Linked DNA regions of Homo sapiens: region 1 is linked to region 2. The links are contacts of gene promoters, found by promoter capture Hi-C in human tissues and cell types (Jung and others, 2019). All regions are on one chromosome and are shown on one strand. The core of a region is centred on a gene start or on the middle of the fragment in contact, and the rest is flanking DNA. Distances in the headings are between cores, read along the strand shown. Region 1 overlaps CDK10 (cyclin dependent kinase 10). Region 2 holds the start of RPL13 (ribosomal protein L13).

Region 1 (3,689 bases), core at 1,151-3,650, 130 kb before region 2:
CCAGAAAACCAGTGCCCTCAGAAGGCTCTCCGCCCAGGGCTCCCCGCTCCCAGCAGCCCAGGAAACCAGTGCCCTCAGAAGGCTCTCAGCCCCGGGGCTGCCTGCTCCCAACAGCCCAGGAAACCAGTGCCCTCATAAGGCTCTCGGCCCTGGGGCTGCCCGCTCCCAGCAGATGCCCCCACCACAGGAATTCCACCTCACTGAAGCTCGCTGAAACACTGGGAGGTGGAGGCAGAGGCAGCAGCAGCTCTTCAAGTCCCCAAGTGCCCTGTTTCGTTATAAATGTGCACCACAAGGGCCCATGAAGCCCATTCCCCCACCCCAGGCCCCTCTGCCACGCACCTGAGCCTCCGAGAAGGGTGTTGGCATATTCTCCAGGAGGCTGGCCAGGTCCTGCTCACAGTAACCCATCACCAGGAAGATGCTGGAAGAAACAGAAGATGCATGCCACTCTCCGGCCTTCTCCTAAGGGGTGGAAGTGGAGCCTCCCCTGCTGCAGGAGGGGACATGGGCAGGACAACCTGTGTCCCCCTCAGACAATGGGCTGAGCCAGGCGGTGAGGTGGGGTCATCTCTTCTCTGACAACCTCATGCCCAGTGACACTCAGTCCTCGCTCTGTGCAACACCTCTAGCCCAAGACACATGCTCCCTAGGGCCCAATGTGCAGACCAGGAGACCACGTACCTCTCCAGGTGGTTCCCCACAACCACCTCCTTCAGCTCCACGATGTTCGGATGACGCAGGCGGAGCAGCAGCGTGATCTCCCGCAAGCTGCTGATGGGGATGCCTGGGGAGGGAGGTGGCCTCAGCGAGCCCCACCCCAGTGATGGCGGGGAAGCCCCAACCCCAGCCACTCTTGGGCTTCACGAACACCTGATAGCAGGTGCTGCAGTGTCCCCACCTCAGGGAGAATTGGGGCGACCCCAATAAGCATTTTTTTTTTTTTGAGACGGAGTTTCGCTCGTTGCCCAGGCTGGAGTGCAATGGCACCATCTCGGCTCACCGCAACCTCTGCCTCCCGGGTTCAAGCAATTCTCCTGCCTCAGCCTCCCTAGTAGCTGGGATTACAGGCATGTGCCACCACGCCTGGCTAATTTTGTATTTTTAGTAGAGATGGGGTTTCTCCATGTTGGTCAGGCTGGTCTTGAACTGCCGACCTCAGGTGATCCGCCTGCCTCGGCCTCCCAAAGTGCTGGGATTACAGGCATGAGCCACCATGCCCGGCCCAATAAGCACTTTTAACTCTTCCTTGACCAAATACGAATCGGCACCTCTCTAAACACCGTGGACATCTATGTGGGGCATGGCAGGGCCCTGCCTGCACAGGCAGGTGCTGGGGGTGGAGGGGACAGCAGAGCTGAGCCTGCAGTGAGGTGGCCTCACCAGACAGGAGGGGGAGGAGGGGATGGAGACTGCAGAGCCCTCCTGGCAGACAGCTGAGGCTGCGTGTGGACCTGGGGGTGATGTGCTGGGCCACACCAGAACCCTCCCAGAGGCCGGCCCCCGCTACAAGCACCGTGCAGTCGCTCTGAGGAAACTTCAGGTAACTCACATCCTTCTGCCTCCTCCCAGTGCGAGGTCCCAACACCCCAATTTCCTGCTCACCATCCTTCTCCTTGTCCATCCGCACCTTCTTCAGTGCGACAATCTCATCTGTCTGGGTGTCCCGGGCCCGATCTGGAATGGAAACACATTGGTGATGACATCATCTCGATGCCCCTCGTGGGCTCCCTAGCGCTGAACGGGAGGCTCTCCCTGAGCCACAGGGGTCCCCGTTCTTTCCTCTGACAACCTCATGCCCAGTGACACTCAGTCCCCACTCTGTGCAACGCCCCTAGCCCGAGACGCGTTCCCCCGGAGGGTTTCCTCATTTGAACTGGGCAGGGGGTGCCCAACTTTGCTCTGTGCTGGACCCTGGCCTCCAGCCACTCAGTTCTGTGGCTCCAGGCTCTCCATGTCCTCCTTAGCATGCAGATCACTGCTTTGTGCTCTCTTGTAATGTCCTAAAAGCAAATAAGGTACTCTATGCAGAAAAAAGCAAACCTTATTTTGTGTGAAGATGGCTCTACAAAACATCCTGCTAATGTGTGCAGCTTCCAGAATGACCTACGCCAATTTCACATCTGTTATAACCTTTAGTTGTGTGTGGTGTTTTTGGTTTTTTTGAGACAGGGTCTCACTCTGTTGCCAAGGCTGGGGTGCAGTGGCGTGATCACAGCTCACTGCAGCCTCAAACTCCTAGGCTTGGCCGGGTGCAGTGGCTCACACCTGTAATCCCAGTGCTTTGGGAGGCCGAGGCAGGAGGATCATTTGAGCCCAGAAGTTCAAGACCAGCCTGGGCAACATAGGGAGATCCCATCTCTACCAAAAATTTAAAAATTAGCTGGGTGTGCTTATGTACTCTTGTGGTCCCAGATACTCAGGAGGCTGAGGTGGGAGGATCACTTGAGCCTAGGAGGTCGAGGCCGCAGTGAGCTATGATCATGCCACTGCACTCCAGTCTGGGCAATAGAGCAAGACCCATCTCAAAAACAAACAAAAAGAAAAAACACCTGGGCTCAGGTGACTCCTCCAGAGTTGCTGAGGTGATAGACATGAGCACCATGTCCAGCTCCTGCTGCTTCTGGAAAGTTCTGTATTTTATTTCTCTAACAGTTCTGTGTACTCTGCAGTGACACGTTTGGATTATGGGCATTAGCAACCGGATGCTTACGTTTACCCAGAAATGGTACAATGTTTGTGATAACTACATCAGGAATTGAAGTTCCTGAACAGGTTTCTGCCCTGTTTCAGAGCACAGGGTCTGAGTCCCTTCCAGCCCCAACGCGGCTGCTGCTTCGACAGTCTCGTCCCACACTGTCACAGCCACGAGCTGCGGCCACATGTCCTAGCCTTGGCCACTCACACACAATGCCGTAGGTACCCTCTCCAATGCGGTTCAGCTTCTCAAACTCCTTCACACTCCGGCATCGTCCCAGCTGAAACAGAAGGGTGTTGCCAGTGTGGAAATTTGGCAGCTGATGGAACAACTGAGGAAATTTCAAATGGAATTTGTACCAGGGAGCCCACTCACGTCTTGCTCACCAAACAGAAAGGCAACCACACGTTTGGGCTTTTTTTTTCTTTTTTTGAGACTGAGTCTCGCTCTGTTGCCCAGGCTGGAGTGCAGTGGCAAGAACATGGTTCACTGCAACCTCCGCCTCCTGGGTTCAAGTGATTCTCCGGCCTCAGCCTCCTGAGTAGCTGGGATTACAGGCAGGTGCCACCACAACCGCCTAATTTTCTATTTTTAGTAGAGACTGGGTTTCACCATGTTGGCCAGGCTGGTCTTGAGCTCCTGACCTCAAGTGATCTGCCCGCCTTGGCCTCCCAAAGTGCTGGGATTACAAGCGTGAGCCACCGTACCCGGCCTCTTGGGCTTTTCTGATGAGAAAAGGTGGTGACGATACTGGGCCAATGCTTTGAAAGAAATATCAGAGGCGGCCACTCAGATACTCCCTTTCAATCCCACATACAAAAATACATCTGTGGCAGAGGCTGCTGTCCCAGCATCCCTGTATCACTACCTCCTGGAAGTTATGAAACGCTACCCAGTGGCATCTGGCCTTGGAATGTGAGCTGAAGGGACCGTGTGACTTCCAGGTGAAAGGAAGCTTTCACCTCTTCTCACCTCAGTGACGGGAAGAAAA
Region 2 (5,012 bases), core at 1-2,500:
GTCCATTAAGGTTATCTCTGCGGAAACGCACAGGTGAACCTTAGCAGTCCCGCTTAGCTCATCACCCACAATGTTTTGGTTCTTCTCACCCCAGCAAGACCCAGGGACCGGTGTCACTGATAAAGGAGCCAAGCCTCACTGTCCCCGCGCACCAGGACGGCCAGAGAGCCGTGTACTCACAGAACTGTCTCCCTTCTTGGGGGCCGAGGGCTTCCTGGGGAAGAGGATGAGTTTGGAGCGGTACTCCTTCAGCCGCTGCACGTTGGCCTGCAGGGACTCCGTGGACTTGTTCCGCCTCCTCGGATCCACAGAAATGCCGATGGTCCGGGCCACCTTCTTGTGAATGCCGGCCACCTGCCCCAGAACCAGAGAGAGATGGAGACAGGCCCGGGCTTTCTCCAGCCCCGAGGCCTGGATGAAAAGCCTCAGCAATCAGATGGAAAAGGGTTCAAATGTGCTTTCATCAAGGCCGTACAGCGATTCCGGAGAATGTCATCACGCGACTGAGGCCAACAGAGGGGACTTCGGGGCCTTCCTGACACCGCAGCGCTGCCAGTACTCACCCTGAGCTCCTCCAGGCTGAAGCCGCGGCCGGCGCGCACCTTCGTGTGGTACCGAACCGTGGGGCAGCGCACGATGGGCCGGATGGGACCCGACGCGGGGCGCGGGGCGATGCGGCGCGCCTTGGCTTGCCGGGCCTTACGTCTGGTGGAGAGAAGCGCAGCGGCGGTCACCCTTGCCTAAGGCCGCCAGGCCAGCGCTCCGCGACGGTTGCAGACAGCGCCCCCCGCCCTGGCATCGGCCACCCGCAAGCCAAGGCGCAGCCGCGGGCACGAGCCCCAGGGGCAGCCCCGAGCGCAGGGCTCACCTGCGGATCTTACGGGCCGGCTGGTTGAACCACGTGGCCACGCGCCGCTGCCAGTCCTTGTGGAAGTGGGGCTTCAAGACCATGCCATTCCGGCTGGGCGCCATGGCTGCCTACGGCCCTGCGGCTGCGGACGAGAGGGGAGCGAGTGAGAGGCCGGACCCCGGGCGCGCGCACCCCCCCGGGCCTCCGCCCCGAACCCTCCAGACTGGGCCGTCCGGCCGCGCCTAGAGCCCGGGCAGCGGCCGAACGCTGTCTGCGAAGAAGAAGGGGCCCATCCACTCCCGCGTTGGCTGAAGCGCCAGGCCGATGGCGCTGGATGATGCCCAAAGGCCAGGACCCAGTCTCCCTCACCTCCTGCGCAGGAAAACAGCCGAGCGGAAAGGAAGCGGCCCCGCAATGCACTCTGGGATGATAGCAGGGCCGGCCAACCAGAAGCGCCGGGCGCTCTGACCAATCAGAGCCCCGAAAGGAGGAACTGACGTCGCCGCGGCTCTCCCGGCAGCCCTAGGGCCGCCGTCGCAGACATGTTGCCGCTGAGAATGCGGCGGGGCGGCCGTGATTCCTGGGCCCTGAGTAACCGACGGCCGGACTTGCTTGACGTCCGCCGTTACTGCCCCGGCGCTTCAGCCGCTGCGCGGGCCGCGGCCGAGTCCTGTCTTGCGGGCTAACGCGCGCGAGTCCGGTATCTGGGCCGACGGCGAACGGGCGACGCCCGAGGAATTCTGTTTGTTCACATTTGTGAGACACGTTTGCAGCGCAAAGGCAGAAAAACTTCAGTGACATCCGAGTTTGCGCAACCTAAGGCCTTCGTCCTTGTCGTTCCAGCGTTTATTCTCCTCCCATCCATTTAGAACATTTGTGGTTTTTTTTTTTGTTTTTTTTTTTTGGAGACGGAGTCTCGCTCCGTCGCCCAGGCTGGAGTGCAATGGCGCGATCTCGGCTCACTGCAGCCTCCGCGTCCCAGGTTCAAGCAATTCTGCCTCAGCCTCCCGAGTAGCTGGGATTACAGGCGCCCGCCGCCACACCCTGCTAATTTTTGGTATTTTAGTAGACGGAGTTACTGTTGGCCTCTGTCGCTTTCCCTTGGCCCAGGATTAGGTGACTTCTCTAAGGTCAGGGGTACCCGACTGAAAATGTCACACTCTGACCTGCTGTGCCTACTGCCTTCCTTCACAAAGAAAAGCATCAACAAAAAGCCATCTCTTCTCTAGTATAAGTCTGTGAAGGCACCATCCATCTTACTGCTACCTGGAAACCTTTAAATCCCAATAACCCTCTTTCTTCCCTACCCTCACCCAATCACCACGCTTCCTCCTGGTAAAACTTATTATTATTTTTTTTTTTTGAGACGGAGTCTCCCTCTGTTGCCCAGGCTGGAGTTCAGTGGTGCGATCTCTGTTCACTGCAAGTTCTGCCTCCCGGGTTCACGCCATTCTCCTGCCTCTGCCTCCCAAGTAGCTGGGACTACAGGCGCCCACCATCACGCCCAGCTGATTTTTTGTATTTTTAGTACAGACGGGGTTTCACTGTGTTAGCCAGGATGGTCTCGATCTCCTGACCTCGCGATCCGCCCGCCTGGGCCTCCCAAAGTGCTGGGATTACAGGCGTGAGCCACCGTGCCTGGCCAACGTAATCCACATTTTAAGAATTTCACAGTTCCAGCACTTTGGGAGGCTGAGGTGGGCGGATCAGCCGAGGTCAAGAGTTTGAGATCACCCTGGCTAAGATGGTGAAACCCTGTCTCTACTAAAAATACAAAAAAGCTGGGCGTGGTGGCGCATGCCTGTAATCCTAGCTACTTAGGAGGCTGAGTCACCAGAATTGCTTGAACTGGGGAGGCAGAGGTTGCAGTGAGCCAAGATCACATTACTGCACTCTAGCCTGGGCAACAGAGCAAGACTCAGTCTCAAAAAGAAAAAAAAGTATTTCACAGGCCAGGCACGGTGGCTCATGCCTGTAAATCCCAGCACTTTGGGAGGCCGAGGCGGGTGGATCACCTGAGGTCAGGAGTTGGAGACCGGCCTAGCCAACATGGCAAAATCCCGCCTCTACTAAAAATACAAAAATTAGCCATGTGTGGTTGTGTACACCTGTAATCCTAGCTACTCCAGAGAGTAGGACAGGGGAATCACTTGAACCCAGGAGGCAGAGGTTACAGTGAGTCGAGACTGCACCACTGCACTCCAGCCTGGGTGACAGAGTTAAGCCTCCGTCTCAAAAATGAAAAATTTAAGAGCTGGGCGTGCTGGCTCACACCTGTAATCCCAGCATTTTGGGAGCCCAAGGCAGGCAGATCACGAGGTCAGGAGATCGAGACCATCCTGGCTAACATGGTGAAACCCCGACTCTACTAAAAATACAAAAAATTAGCCGGGCGTGGTGGCAGGCGCCTGTGGTCCCACCTACTTGGGAGGCTGAGGCAGGAGAATGGCGTGAACCCGGGAGGCGGAGGTTGCACTGACCCAAGATCGTGCCACTGCACTCCAGCCTGGACTACAGAGCAAGATTCCATCTCCAAAAACAAATAATAATTAAAAAATAATAAATTAATTTCACAAAAGGCTTGGCACAGTGGCTCACACCTGTAATCCCAACACATTGGGAGGCCAAGGCAGGAGGATCACTTGAACTCAGAAATTCGAGTCTAGCCCTGTCTCTACAAAAAGTACAAAAATTAGTCGGGCATAATGGTGCGTGCCTGCGGTCCCAGCTACTTGGGAGGCTGAGTCAGGAGGATTGCTTGAGCCCAGAAGATCGAGGCTGCAGTGAGCCGAGATGGCGCCACTGCACTCTAGCCTGGGCGACAGAGCAAGACTCTGCCAAAAACCAACACAACAGCAAAAAAAAAACAATTACCGAGGACACTACCCTTGGCTACACCAGCTAAAACCCTCCCATCGATGTGCTGGTCTTTGGATTTGGAGAACTGGGGCAAAGGTCAAGGCATCTCTCAGAGATGCCACCCTCGGGTGTGTGACTGCACCTGTGGCTGCCTCCTTACTGCTCCGCCAGCGTTTCAGTGTTGCAGCAACAAGAGGACAATCCACTCACGTCACTGCACCACAGGGAGGGCAGAAGCAAGGGGGCCGGAGTGGGAGCCGCATGCCCCGGAACTCAGGGCCAGGGTGTCCTGGGTCGTCTTCTATCCCTACGGGGTCCAGGCCCCAGATTCCTACAGAAGGAGTTTTTCACTTAGTCCCTGCATTACTCAAATTATAAACTGAAACCACAAGACCCTGTGATCCAGGGCAAGCCCACCAGCTCCTCTGCATTAGAGCTGGCCAGACAATGCAAATGTAGATTTTCCAACTACACAGTTTATTAGTAAAGTATCTCAACAATTCTCAGAGCAGTAAAAACCAAGGCATCCCCAACACTGCATGCGTGACTAGACCAGCAAGAAGTCCTCAACTTGCACCAGTCCACATGGCAGCAGGGGGCAGTGGTGAGTCCTCCGGAGCCCAGTGCCTGGGCCTGACTGGCCCCATTGATGAGTGAGCTGGATGACAGGGCCGCTGGAGATAGGACAATCGGCTCACAGGGTCCTTTCATGTCCGATCCCCTTAGCATTCCGAGGGAGCCACAGGAACTGGGGCGGTCGTGCAAGCGTCGGCATGAACAGGGGTCTGTTTGGAGTCTGAATGCTCTGCTGCCTCTGGGTGGCCTCAGCCACACTGGGAACGACTGTCTATAACCCTGGGAACTCGAAGTGTTCCATGCTCACTCGGGAAGCACTGATAACCTTCCCCATAGGGGAAACGACTCACAAACACAGGACTCCGTCAGTAGTTTCTGCAGAGAAACTTAAAATCATGAAAAGGGTCATCAATCAACAGATCTCAGAAGTCACTGTGCAGGGACTACTGAGGGCCGCGAGAGGAAGTGCAAACCTCAGCTGAAAAGCAACTCAGGGTGGCTGAGTGAGCCCTCACTTCCCGGACCACCCGCACGTGCAGCCAACACCTCCCAACTACTTGGGCCAAGTCGGCTCTTCGCCTCCAAGTGGAGGCTGCTGGGTCTCTTCGGTCTCCTCCTCGCCCAAGTCCTGTTTCTCCCTCTGGGCGTCGATCCACCTCTGCGGTGCGATCATTTTCTTCGGCCCATGGGGCGGCGGGCCAATGAGAGCCTCAATGTCCTCATAGTT

The links. The method cuts DNA at HindIII sites, captures the fragments that hold promoters and counts their contacts. A contact is called where the count stands out against the background at its distance.
Region 1: a fragment that was not itself captured here is called in contact with the fragment with the promoter of RPL13 in region 2 in 12 of the 25 tissues and cell types used here (H1 embryonic stem cells, IMR-90 fibroblasts, aorta and 9 more).

What each region holds. Positions count from the first base shown.
Region 1 is chr16:89,688,541-89,692,229 of GRCh38, reverse strand. It overlaps CDK10 (cyclin dependent kinase 10), which reads right to left. Exons shown (of 13, transcript NM_052988.5): 2 at 2,906-2,978; 3 at 1,606-1,677; 4 at 685-787; 5 at 343-424. Among named protein-coding and RNA genes, the nearest start is that of LINC02166, 3.5 kb to the right of the region's middle. The HindIII fragment of the contact is 5,257 bases long and covers 1-3,689 here.
Region 2 is chr16:89,556,920-89,561,931 of GRCh38, reverse strand. RPL13 (ribosomal protein L13) reads right to left here and starts at 1,250. Exons shown (of 6, transcript NM_000977.4): 1 at 1,220-1,250; 2 at 869-992; 3 at 564-705; 4 at 181-354. The coding sequence starts at 972. SNORD68 (small nucleolar RNA, C/D box 68) reads right to left here and starts at 502; the gene lies at 431-502. SPG7 (SPG7 matrix AAA peptidase subunit, paraplegin) reads right to left here. Exons shown (of 17, transcript NM_003119.4): 17 at 4,166-5,012. The coding sequence ends at 4,839. RefSeq lists silencers at 668-717, 778-1,047, 2,589-2,808 and an enhancer at 1,158-1,267. The HindIII fragment of the contact is 11,945 bases long and covers 1-5,012 here.